Regions from separate parts of the Homo sapiens genome. Here region 2 is linked to region 1. The links are contacts of gene promoters, found by promoter capture Hi-C in blood cells and fetal thymus (Javierre and others, 2016). All regions are on one chromosome and are shown on one strand. The core of a region is centred on a gene start or on the middle of the fragment in contact, and the rest is flanking DNA. Distances in the headings are between cores, read along the strand shown. Region 1 holds the start of RIT1 (Ras like without CAAX 1). Region 2 overlaps GON4L (gon-4 like).

Region 1 (6,707 bases), core at 2,614-5,113:
GGCCTCCTAAAGTGCTTCGATTACAGGATTGCAGGCTCAGGATTACAGGCGTAAGCCTCCGCACCCGGCCTTGTATGCTTTTATATCTCTACCAGTTACAATGTAAAGTTTTTCTGAGTTTACAGCCAGAGCTTGAAATCAAATGCACTAAATTAGAAACTCAAGAACAGAAACCTCATCTTTTTGATCACCACTGTACCCTGAGGGTAAGCAGTGCTTGGCACATAATAGAAACTCAGAAGACATAAGTATTTGCTGTTGAATCAGATAATATTGCCAGGAGAGTAGTTAACTGGAGGAAAATTGATTAAAACAGATAACTTGGCCGGATGCGGTGGCTCACGCCTGTAATCCCAGCACTTTGGGAGGCCGAGGCGGACGGATCACAAGGTCAGGAGATCGAGACCATCCTGGCTAACACGGTGAAACCCCGTCTCTACTAAAAATACAAAAAATTAGCCAGGCGAGGTGGCGGGTGCCTGTAGTCCCAGCTACGCTGGAGCCTGAGGCAGGAGAATGGCATGAACCCCGGGGGGGCGGAGCCTGCAGTGAGCCGAGATCATGCCACTGCACTCTAGCCTGGGCGACAGTGAGACTCCATCTAAAAAAAAAAAACAAAAAAAAAAATACAGATAACTCTTACAGGAGACGAGTATTTGAGTTTTACTTTAAAGAAAGGGAAAGACGCGGCCGGGCACGGTGGCTCACGCCTGTAATCCCAGCACTTTGGGAGGCCAAGGCAGACAGATCACGAGGTCAGGAGATCGAGACCATCCTGGCTAACACAGTGAAACCCTGTCTCTACTAAAGGTACAAAAAATTAGCCGGGCGTGGTGATGGGCCCCTGTAGTCCCAGCTACTCAGGAGGCTGAGGCAGGAGAATGGCGTGAACCCGGGAGGCGGAGCTTGCAGTGAGCCAAGACGGCGCCACTGCACTCCAGCCTGGATGACAGAGTCAGACTCTGTCTCAAAAAAAAAGAAAGGAAAAGATGCTTTTGGAGTTCTCAAGTACATATGCGTAAGCCCTAAATTCATTTTATTCCTAGAACTCCCGCCATAATTTGAATCTCTGAACAATTTTTTTTTTTTTTTTTGAGACAAAAGCTTGCTCTTATCCCCCAGGCTGGAGTGTGATGGCACTATCTCGGCTCACTGCAACCTCCGCCTCCCAGGTTCAAGCAATTCTCCTGCCTCAGCCCCCGCAGTAGCTGGGATTACAGGCACCCAGCACCACGCCCGGCTAGTTTTGGTATTTTTAGTAGAGATGGGGTTTCACCATGTTGGCCAGGCTGGTCTCGAACTCCTGACCTCAGGTGCTCCACCCGCCTCGACCTCTCAAAGTGCTGGGATTACAGGCATGAGCCACCGCGCCTGGCCTGAATCTCTGAACAGTGTTCTAAATTTGATATAGTACATGAAAAAGTCAAGACTTTTTCTATTTTTCCCATCCCTGGAATCATGTGCTCTATGAAATGACCATATCAAAGCTGGGCCACCACAAAACATTATTGGCTTTGCGGGAAACAGAGCAGCAGAGGCCTGACCCAATGGAAATCCTTCCTAGAGAACTAGGATCATGGCAAAGAGTGTCACATACTGAAAATAATAAGGCCCGGCGCAGTGGTCACGCCTGTAATCCCAGCACTTTGGGAGTCCGAGGTGGGCAGATCACGAGGTCAGGAGATTGAGACCATCCTGGCTAACACGGTGAAATCCCATCTCTACTAAAAATACAAAAAAAAATTAGCCGGGCTTGGTGGCGGGCGCCTGTAGTCCCAGATACTCGGGAGGCTGAGGCAGGAGAATGGCATGAACCTGGGAGGTGGAGCTTGTAGTGAGCCGAGATTGTGCCACCGCACTCCAGCCCGGGCAACAGGGTGAGACACCGTCTCCAAAAAAAAAAACAAAAAAAGAAAATAACAGTACAGCTGACTTTCTGTGCCCTCTCCCATTCCCACATCCATTTTTCTTTCATATTAGGATATAAACCCTTAGAATCAAACCTGCTTCCTTATGGTTTAGGAATGACAGTAATGTTCTTAGTCTTTGTAGAGATTAGCAATTAAAAAATAAAAAAGTCAAAGCAAACAAAATGACTTTTTTACTCTATTAGCGTTCTGCAACAAGAGTTAAGGACCATAAAAGACATCGGAGGGCTAGGCACAGTGGCTCACGCCTGTAATCCCAGTACTTTTCGAGGCTGAGGTGGATGGATTACTTGAGGTCAGGAGTTTGAGACCAGCCTGGCCAACATAGTGAAATCCCATCTCTACTAAAAATACAAAAATTAGCCGGGTGTGGTGGCAGATGCCTGTAATCCCAGCTACTCAGGAGGCTGAGGCAGGAGAATTGCTTGAACCCGGGAGGCGGAGGTTACAGTGACCGGAGATCGCACCATTGCCCTCCAGCCTGGGAGACAGTGCGAGACTCCATCTCAAAAAAAAAAAAAAAACAACAGACAGACATGGGAGAAGACATTACTACGTAATGAACTTAAGGTATAAGGAAGTAAACCAAGAGCTCCAAGTGCAAGATGTCCAGGCTTGGCATGTCTGGGTTGTAAGAGTTCAGCAGCCTGGCTCTACTTGTTTCTCTGCTTCCTTTTGTGGAAGTTCAAACCAGCTGACTCACAGTTACAGAGCGAGTCTCAAGTCATACCCTTAGAGAAGTGACAGCAAGAAAAGGCTTCGTTAAGTGGCCTGTATACAACCATAAAAAAATACAACAAAGAGAGTTGTCCCATTAATGTTCAGTAAGAGACAAAGACTAAAGATGGCTTATGACATAAAGTCTGAAAAAAAAAGAAATATTCAGTTGCTTACCAACTGCTGATACCCTTGTTTCTAAATAAATCTGAATTAGACTCCAAAAAAGCCTCAAAATATAAATAGTTAGAAACTACTGATATTCATTAAGATATTTTTATGGGGTATATTTGGAAACATAAGTGATGATCTGGCTTACCAATGGTGGGATCATGATCTTCTGGGAATCGGTGGCTGATGAACTGCATGGTCATGGCTTCAAAAGAAGAAATAAAAGTCAAATCCTCACAAAGGTGACCCACAGAGAGAATTTTAAGTATTAACATTGCAAGATAGCAAGTATCCCATCTGGTCATTTAAGTACTTTTCATCCATGCTTCCTGTCAAATGGAAAATGTTACCTACCACTCTTCCCTACACCACCAGCACCCAGCATCACTAGTTTGTACTCCCGTGAGAGCCCAGCGGGGCTGCTACAGCAGCTACCAACTGGGCGAGTTCCAGAATCCATTGTCCTCTTGGGGCCTTCCTCGGTTGCCCCGAGGAAAAGCCACCTAGAAAAGGAGGAGGAAATGCTTAATCCAGGATGGAGACACCACGGCGACAGCCCTCAAGCCAGTGCCTTACCTTTCCATACATATTCTGGCCTGTCCCTCTTACTCTGGCCTGTCCCTCTTGCTCACCACTGCACCCTTTCGGGTGGCCCTAAGAAACCCCCCCATCTTCACCCTCCCTCCTAGACAGTTCAGTCACATGACACATCACAGGTTTTACTTTTTCCAAAGAGAAAAATAAAAAGATACAAATAAATTTACGTCTCGGCACAGTAGGGACAAGGAGAAAGTTTTGGGAAGAAAGGGATGCGGCCCCTTAGGCCGCAGGGGTTCTCTCACGTCTGCGGTACCCAGAGGTTCCGCCCCCTCCCCATTCTCCTCCGAACCCCCTCCCCACCCCCAGCTGCTGCTCCGCCGCCAGACTCCCCACCCCTCTACCTCACAAGCCGACGCCCTGCTGCTCCTACTGGTCAGTGGGGACTGGAACACCACAGCCGGTCGGGTCACGCACTTCGTCTTCCTTCACTCGCGGAGGCTCCGGCACTGACCTGTGACCCCTCCCGCAACCGAGTAAGATGGCGCCACCGGCGCCCGAGTCGCGGAAGGAGGGGCGGGGCCACTCAGTGACGCCCACAGCCTGCCCCGCCCTCTTCCCGCCCCTCCCAGGTCCCTAAAACCCAGTTCCGGGACCCACCGCTGAAGGTCCTCTGGTCACCTACCCAACCTAGGGTGTATGCACTCACAGACAAGGGTATTTAATCACGAGTAGAAAGTAAATTATTTACACAAAAGGGAAGGGAGTACGTGATAAGAGACATGCAGGGACACTTAAATTAACAACTTACCGAGGGTTGTTTGCTGCTTGTGGGAAAAAAAAAAACCCAAAACTAATTTGACCCAATGTAATGAGAGGAAGGGAGGACAGGGGCACCCCCCAAATCCTCCTAAAACACAGGATTTCAGTCAAGTCTACCGGGGATGACTACTCATAGGAGAAAAATGACTTTCCTAAAGGAGCGGCCACAATGACTTTTGCTATTGAAACCTAAATTCATTCTCAGAAACCAGATGTTCACAACACTCCCTAATCAGAGTTCTGTATGTATTTTAAACACGTATAAGACACACAAAAACTTGTTTTAAATAAATGTACCACACTCTGGCAGGAAAGAGAGCTCTGAGTTAACAGAGGCCTTGAGTTAAATACAGAACTGAAGCGCAGCCACTATAACCATATTCCCCTCTATTTACGTAGCACAGGTGCTAGAAGAAACTGACACGAAAATTGTTCTCATGCAGCTCTGCCTACCACTGTTCTTTTTAAATGTCTTTCTGGGCCGGGCGGGCGCGGTGGCTCACACCTGTAATCCCAGCACTCTGGGAGGCCGAGGCAGGTGAGTCATGAGGTCAAGAAATAAGAGACCATCCTGGCCAACATGTAAAACCGTCTCTACTAAAAATACAAAAGAATTAGCTGGGTGTGGTGGCATGCGCCTATAAGTCCCAGCTACTCGGGAGGCTGAGGCAGGAGAATCACTTGAACCTGGGAGGTGGAGGTTGCAGTTAGCTGGCTGAGAGGGTGCCACTGCACTCCAGCCTGGCAACAGAGCAAAACTCCGTCTCAAAATTTAAGTCTTTCTGGCCAGGAGTGCTGGCTCACGCCTGTAATCCCAGGACTTTGGGAGGCTGAAGTGGGCTGATCACTTGAGGATCAGGAGTTCAAGACCAGCCTGGCCAAAATGGTGACTCCCTGTCTCTACTAAAAATATAAAAATTAGTTGGGCATGGTGGTAGGTGCCTATAATCCCAGCTACTCAGGAGGCTGAGGCTGGAGAACCACTTGAACCCAGGAGGTTGCGGTGAGCCAGGATTGCACCATTCCACTCCAGCCTGGGTGACAGAGCGAGACTCCATCTCAAAAAAAAATAAAATGTCTTTCCAAGAATAACATATTTCCTTTAAAACCCGCTTCATTCATGAAGTCCTTTTAATACGCTGTTAAATAAAGGAGGGCTAAAATATGAAAATGGAAAATATCCAGCATAATAATCCTTAACCTTTTCATTTGAACTTTAAGGGTACATTTTGCAGTTACATAACTCTGGGAACTATATGCAAACCTTGGGGTCTGTATATGTATTTTTCTGGTAATGTTATAGTTGCATTGTGCTATGAGTAAAAAAGTTTATGAATTTCAGTGTATGGATGGGTTGTGGAAGAAAACAGAGAAACCACAAGCAGAATATTTATAGATTTATTTATAATGAAATTATGGTCTAAATATTTACAACATATAGGAAACCAGAGGATAAGTTTATACAAAGCCAGCCTGCAAAGTATTCAAATGTGCAAAAATGACAGTTCAATATCTCAAACTATTCCTGGTTCAGCAGACTAGCTCCTTCACTTTCACACATCAATATTTGATACAAAAAGTTATTTTGGCAAAATCTGTAATGCCAAGAAAAAGGACAATTTGCAATTTCAGTCATTAAGTCCAAAATCCTATAGCCAGCAGTCAGATCTCTCTGTTTTAGCTGCAACCAGTTCTGGGAGAGAGAGACCACTGTATTTCATTTCTGTGATGAGTTCTGACCAGTTTTAGTCAAGAAGTTTTCTCTGACCCAGCTGAAGACAGGATCTTAGAAGGGCAATAAAAACAGTAATGGCTATGAGACCAATGTGCCTGAAGGTGCCAGCTTTGGATCACCCCAATTAAAAAACACAATGAAAAAATAATTTCATTTTCCTATCCAGGATCCAGCTATATCCAACAGTTTTAAATGAGACAGCATTTTCCAAAACAGAAATAATCCAAAACAAAACAGGGATGCAGATCTGTCAGAATTAAATACTGAAAAGGACGGTCTTAAAATCATTTCCCCACTAATAAATAGTAAGGCTCTGTTTGTAACCAGTTATATATCAAAATTGACCAAACAGTAGTAAAATACAAATAAAACTTTCTTTATGTCAGAACTGGGGCTATTCACCTGGAAAAGGCTGACCAGGTCAAATGTGTATGGGAACGACCCTGTTAGGATGCTTTGTTGGACAAGCACATTTCACCAACTGTTAAAAAGCTTCTGAGATAAATTTGTGATTCTAATTAAATTTTAACAGATTCTATGCCACTGCAGAAATAAGGATTTTTGTGGTTGTTAAGGAACCCCTTTAAGAAAGGGGGGCACTGAATCTCTAACTTCTGCAAAGGTCCAGATGGTTCCCAGCACAGGCCCCAGAGTCTTGTTAAATCAAATGCATGCATTATTGCTAAGAAGAGTCACTGAGGGTCAAAACTCTGTTCCACTGTTTCCTAGGGAGCCATCCAGAATGGCATCTGTTGTTTAGCTCGTGGTTGTGATGAAGGATATTGGTATCCCAAACT
Region 2 (6,707 bases), core at 1-2,500, 150 kb before region 1:
AAACAAATAAACAAAGAAAATACCTTATCATGATTTTGGACCCCGATCTCTTTTTTCCTCTTGTTCTTTGAGGCTGTGGGTATCTTGGGAGGCTCCTCCTCTTCTTCCACATCAGGCAGGGCCACTTCTTCAAAGCCATCAAACTGAGAAGGAGTTGGTGCTGCTGAGCACAGACACCAGGCCAATATCCCTCCCACGTGTGGCCTTCCCCCTTCATAAGGCTACAGCAGCCTTAGGTCCTATACCTCATACTCCTTTTCCTCAGTCCAATTGATCTCTTCAAAGTCACCCATCCGGCTAGCTGCTGGGCGCAAGTGGTCAAAGAAGATAGAAAACTCATCCTGCAGGTGGTCGTGGCCCTTGAGGAGCTGCCACATCTGTGTCTTGAGCTGAGGAGAGTCACAGAGGGAAAGAGGAAGTCTCCAGAGCCTCTCTAGGCTGCCCTTCCCAATCAATCCCACATACTTCCATGTTCTGCTTTCCCAGTCAACTGGGAAACACACAGAGACTCTGCCTGGTAACAAAGAATACTAAAACTTTCTCTTCCTCCTTAGCTGCCTATAGGGGAAGGGTACTAATACTGGATTTGATTCCTAATGATTCCACTCTCCACTCCACCCTACTGATCTCCAGCTAGGGCACTATTCCAAGCAGAGCAAGGAGGTAAGGCCCCTCCCAGGTCCCAGAACCTCCTTCGCTGAACATCCCTTCCAGCACATCCATGGCATTCCTGAGCCTGTGAAGATCAGACAGGCTCCGGTTTCAGGTAGCAATCCCTCCCTATCCCAGTGCTTTATGCTTTGGGTGAGCCTGAAAAGTCCTTGCCTTTTTCATCTCCTCCAGGAAGCCCATGAGCCTCCAGAGGCAAAAAGGTATGGAGTAGGTTGGGGAAAGAGACAAGGGAAAGGCCTAAGGCCCGGAAGACAACAGGAAGAAAGCAGGACAGGAAAGAATACCTCGGTGATCTCCTGGGGAAGGCAGTCTGCACAGCCTTGGAGGACCTTGATAATCTTCTGGTGGTGTGAGGGGTTCTCTGCAAAGCAAATCTCCAGCTGCCGAAGGAACTTGCGGCTCTTCTCAAAAGCCTGCTGCTCCTCAAACTACCAGAGTGGAAAGTGGGCAAAAGAGGAGTCATGATACAGCTAGAGCAGGACTTGAGGGTTCTAAGGATAAGAACTAGTGGACTAGGACACAAGAGATGACAGAACCCTGGTTTAAAATTCTAGTTTACAACTATTGAGATCTAATTTAAAACCCTAACCTCCATCCACCTTGGGCCACTGGTGGGTAGCCACCCAAAGCAATTAAGATGTGAGCAACAGCTTCAAGAGATGTATATATTTCAAGTTGTTTGCTGTTTTAAGGATTGTGAAATCAGCCACCAAAATTCATATGATACTTTAGAGTTTATATTACAAAGAACTTTCAGGCTGCACAAGGTGGCTCATAGCTGTAATCCCATGTTGGGAGGCCAAGGCAGGAGGATCGCTTAAGGCCAGGAGTTCAAGAACAGCAACATACTGAGACTATGTCTCTACAAAAAAATTTAAAAATTAGGCAGGGGCCGTGGTGTACACCTGTAGCTTGAGCTACTTGGGAGGCTGAGGCAGGAGGATCCCAGGGGCCTGTGTTGTCCAGGCTCATCTCAAACTCCTGTCTACAGGCCAGCTGTGGTGGCTGATGCCTGTAATCCCAGCACTTCGGGAAGCCGAGGTAGGCAAATCACCTGAGGTCAAGAGTTCGAGACCAGCCTGACCAACATGGTGAAACCCCATCTCTACTAAAAATACATAAATTAGATAGGTGCGGTCATGCATGCCTGTAATCCCTGCTACCCGGAAGGCTGAGGCAGGAGAATCACTTGAACCTGGGAGGCAGAGGTTGCAGTAAGCAGAGATCACACCACTGCACTCCAGCCTGGGTGACAGAGTCAGACTTTGCCTCAAAAAACAACAACAATAAAACAACAACAACAAAACTCCTGGCTACAAGGGATCCTCCCACCTTAGCCTCCCAAAGTGCTGGGATTACAGATGCCAGCCACTGTGTCTGGCCATTGTCTCTCTCTTTTTTGTTTTTGAGACAAGGTCTTGCTCTTGTCACCCAAACTGGAGTGTAGTGGAGCAATCATGGCTGAGTGAAGCCTCAACCTCTCAGGCTCAAGTGGTCCTCCCACCTCAGCCACCCAAATAGCTGGGACCAAAGGTGTGCACCACCACACCCAGTTAGTTAATTTTTTTATTTTATGTAAAGATGGGGTCTTGCTATGTTGTCCAGGCTGGCCTCCCAAAGTGCTGGGATAACAGGTGTGAGCCACCATACCTGGCTGACATTATCTCTTTAAAAAAATTTTTTGGCCAAGTGTGGTGGCTCACACCTGTAATCCCAGCAATTTGGGAGGTCGAGGTGGGCAGATCACCTGAGGTCTGGAGTTCGAGACCAGCCTGACCAACATGGAGAAACCCCGTCTTTACTAAAAATACAAAATTAGCCAGGCGTGGTGGTGGCGCATGCCTGTAATCCCGGCTACTCGGGAGGCTGAGGCAGGAAAATCGCTTGAACCCAGGAGGCGGAGGTTGCAGTGAGCCGAGATCACGCCACTGCACTCCAGCCTGGGCAACAAGAGTGAAACTCCATCTCAAAAAAAAAAAAATTTTTTTTTTTGTTCACGTATACACTGATTGGAACCTCATAATACCAGAAGAGAAAATGGGCATCACACATTATATGCAGAACTACCCCACTGTCATTTAACCCCAATAAAACTCTTAGAATAATCCCGTTCCTCCCTTTGTTCCTATTTTTATGACGATAAGTCCAGGACTACTGGGATATCCCTCATGTTTAGCCTCCTATTCTGCAACATTTCACGTTACCATACCACAGTGGCCTTCCCAGACCGCTGTGTATAAAACCACCCCTCTAGTTTCCTTTCCTGCTTTATTTTTCTGTAAAACATGATCACTATAAAACATTGTATACTATATATTTTGCTGTTTATATTTATTTTTATAATTTATATTTTATATATTATATATATATATATATGATATATATATATATATGTTTTCTGGAGTATCATCTGAATTTCCTCATGATAACGTAAGCTCCACGAGGGCAGGAATTTTAGTCTTTTGTAATTACTATATTCCTAGCAATTGAGGTCAGGAATTGCTAGGAATTCCTGACAGTTAGGAGGCACCTAACAAATATTTGTTAAATGAATGTCTGGCTTGATACCAGTGAGAAGCAGAGAGCATATGACTCACCTAAGGTGTCCTTTGGCAACTATAGGTAAAACCCTCTCATTTATCATGTAAAGAAAATGGGAGAATGGGATTGGAAAGATAATACCCTGAAAAGACAGAGGCTTTTATCACTCTGGGCTAGGGGATGGCTGTGTGTCTGGAAGGAGCTGGGAGACTGAAAGAGTCTTATTCAACCCCATTCAATCCCAGTCTCACTCTGACCCAGGAGTCCCAGTGTACTTTTTTTCCCCATTCACTTACTAATCCACAGGCCAGAGCTTGCTCAGGTAACAGGAAAGCAGCAAAGTCTTTCAACAGCTGAGGCCAGTCTTGGAGCAGAATTTGCAGGCTTTTGTAGAGATCTACAGCCGTCCGTCTCTGGGTACTTGACTCAAATTCATAGATGACTTGAAGGAAGTCTTCATACTTGCCAGGGATATGTTGTAGGGCTTCTCGCACCTACACGGGAAGACTTTCAATCATCAACACCCTTTATTTGGGCCACAACAAGCAATAAGGGTACAAGGGAGAAGGCAGGGTTATGGTTAGAGAGCTCCAAGAATTATCCATCAGAGGCTGTGCCTCCAACAGATCTTAACATCTGACTGTTAATGGAAGACACAGAGCAATAGGCAAGGTAAAGATCTTTTTCTGGGAGTGAGCAAGTGAAAAATCATCTTCCACGTTCCACAGTTCTACCCACAAAACCAAGCAATGCTTTTCTCTAGGTCACAGCCCTAACCTTTCCTTACTGATTACAGCCCCATAATGAAATAGGTAACATGTGTTTGTACATGTATTTCAGCATGGGCGTAATTTGAGAGTAAATAATACATAAGTTAGGAATGTCAGTAAAACATTAGGAGATAAGAAAAAGCTATGACTATCATTGCCAGTATTCTGCTTTCCAGGGGGATAAAGGAATCAGGTGGTTACCAAGAGAAGGACACAGTTCTCCAGGACACTACCAAGAAGTGGTTAGCTTATGTGTGGTTTTTTTTTTTTTTTTTTTTTTTGAGACAGGGTCTCATTCTGTTGCCCAGGATGGAGTGCACTGATGCAATCATGGCTCACTGCAGTCTCAACCACCTGGGCCCAAGTGATCCTCCCACCTCAGACTCCCAAAGTACCTAGGACCACAGGCATGCACCACCATGCTTAGCTCACTATTTTTTTTTTATTTTTGTAGAGATGGAGGTCTCCTGTGTTGCCCAGGCTTGTCTTGTCTTGAACTCCTGGACTCAAGGATCCTCCTACCCCAGCCTCCCAAAGTGCTGGCATTATATGCAAGGGCCACAGCGCCCAGCCTGGTTCATTTTTTTTTTTTTTTTGAGACAGAGTGTCGCCCTGTCACCAAGGCTGGAGTGCAGTGGTGCGATCTCGGCTCACTGCAAACTCCGTCTCCCAGGTTCAAGTGATTCTTGTGCCTCAGCCTCCCCCGTAGCTAGGATTACAGGCGCCCACCACCACACCCGGCTAATTTTTGTATTTTAGTAGAGACAGGGTTTCACCATGTTGGTCAGGCTGGTCTCTAACTCCTGACCTCAGGTGATCCACCCACCTCGGCCTCCCAAAGTGCTGGGATTATAGGTGTCAGCCACCACGCCCAGCTGGTTCATGTCTTAAGAGCAATGTATTTTCCTGAAATCCACTTGCTGGCCAGTGTACCCACTATCTTTCTTCTCAAGCCAAAGGTTCTATAAAGGTCCTTATCAGCGCACCCAGTAAAGTCACAACCTCCCACTGATGATGGTGGTATCATCTTTCTGCCAATCTCTGGTCAACAGAAGGATGATGGCAGGGTACTAACAATAAACATACTTATGATTGAATTCTATGTCTCCTTGTGGTTCTGTCACAGAGATCTTTTGCCAGAAAAGCCAAGATAGAGGAATATGAAGCCTGTTGCATAGCCTGAAAAACAGACTTTATGTTGAAAAACATCTCCCTTGAAGAAGCAGCCACATTCATAGAGACTGGCAATAACAGGAAGCAGCATTTGCCTACCCTGGTCAGATAAGCTTGGGCAAAGGCCAAGTCCTTCTGCTCCCTGAGTGGATCTCGCTCGAGAATGTCCTCATCATACAGCAACAGCAGCTTGGAGGTGTCCTTGCTGGCCCGAGCCCGACTTCCCCGCTTGTTGCGAGCTCGATGATTGTTCCGGCCTTTTCCAGCAGCTTTGATGCTCTCTCCTTGTAGCACACATGAAAAGGATTGTTTCCCTGTCCCTGCAACCTGTGTTCTTCCCATTCCACCACATGCACCACCCCAGCCAAATCCTATTCAATATTATGGAGCAATTCAAGGAAAAGGTTTTTGGGAAAATGGTATGAGAACTAAGTCCGTCAAGTCAGTTCTACGCAGAGTCTGCAGTGTAACTGCCTTAATTGGGATGACAACAAGATAATCAGCTACTTCATATTGAGAAAGGAAGTCTAAAGAGCAAGTGTGGCTTCTGTAGTGCTTTTGAGAGACTATGTCTTGATGAGGAACAAGCAGTGTTTTCTGAAATAAACATGGGTCTTAGCCCCACACATGACAGATAAGGTAACAATCAGTTTAACAAAGTGAACTGCCAGGCACAGTGGCTCACGCCTGTAATCCCAGCACTCTGGGAGGCCGAGGCGGGTGGATCATAAGGTTAGGAGTTCGATACCAGCCTGACCAACATGGTAAAACCCCATCTCTACTAAAAATACAAAAATTAGCTGGGTGTGGGGGCAGATGCCTGTAATCCCAGCTACTCAGGAGGGTGAGGCAGGAGAATCGCTTGAACCTGGGAGGCAGAGGTTGCAGTGAGCCAAGATCGCACCACTGCACTCCAGCCTGGGCGACAGAGCAAGACTCCGTCTCAAAAAAAAAATAAAAAAATAAAAAAAAGAAAGAAAGTGAACGAAGCTAATATAAATCTAGCAACGGATGAGAATTGAATTAAAAATTTCTGAGTATCTGTTCTCCACAAAGATACCACATTAAACATGTTTTGGGGGAGGGGTGTTGCAGAAGAGATCCAGAGGGTTTCCTCTGGAAATCCTCCACCTGGTTTATAAGCTACCCACCCTGCACACTGTCCTCTAGACAATGAGGTTAAGTGAGAATGGTCCTTCAGTATAGGTTTGCCTAGCTCACCTGGTGGAGTTCTGCTGGTCTCCACTTCTGGAGCAGTCTCAGGTGAAGCAAAAGTAGGAGGCTTCTCAGCAGAGTCTCCAACTGCTTCATCCGTCATTTCATCCTCTTTCTGCAGGCTTTCCATTCCTTCTGCTTCTTCTTCCTCCTCTTCTTCTGGCTCAGAGTTCTCCTCCTGAGAATTCTCTTCTTCAGACTCACCCTCCTGACTCATGCGCCTTTCAGATGCCAGCCAAGTCAGTTTCTCCATTGTTTCCTGTAAAACCCTCCAAAGAGTACTTATAATGGCTCTTAGTGGCTCATGAATTGCAAACAACACAAAGCTATATCAGG

The links. The method cuts DNA at HindIII sites, captures the fragments that hold promoters and counts their contacts. A CHiCAGO score of 5 or more calls a contact.
Region 2: a fragment that was not itself captured here is called in contact with the fragment with the promoter of RIT1 in region 1 in 3 of 17 cell types (megakaryocytes, endothelial precursors and M2 macrophages); the score reaches 9.7 in megakaryocytes.

What each region holds. Positions count from the first base shown.
Region 1 is chr1:155,907,486-155,914,192 of GRCh38, forward strand. It overlaps RIT1 (Ras like without CAAX 1), which reads right to left and starts at 3,864. Exons shown (of 6, transcript NM_006912.6): 1 at 3,758-3,864; 2 at 3,171-3,319; 3 at 2,965-3,021. The coding sequence starts at 3,276. It overlaps KHDC4 (KH domain containing 4, pre-mRNA splicing factor), which reads right to left. Exons shown (of 14, transcript NM_014949.4): 14 at 5,560-6,707. The coding sequence ends at 6,636. The HindIII fragment of the contact is 5,298 bases long and covers 1,103-6,400 here.
Region 2 is chr1:155,756,935-155,763,641 of GRCh38, forward strand. It overlaps GON4L (gon-4 like), which reads right to left. Exons shown (of 32, transcript NM_001282860.2): 22 at 6,378-6,630; 23 at 5,256-5,440; 24 at 3,510-3,707; 25 at 957-1,100; 26 at 246-389; 27 at 24-143. Among named protein-coding and RNA genes, the nearest start is that of DAP3, 71 kb to the left of the region's middle. The HindIII fragment of the contact is 8,033 bases long and covers 1-5,267 here.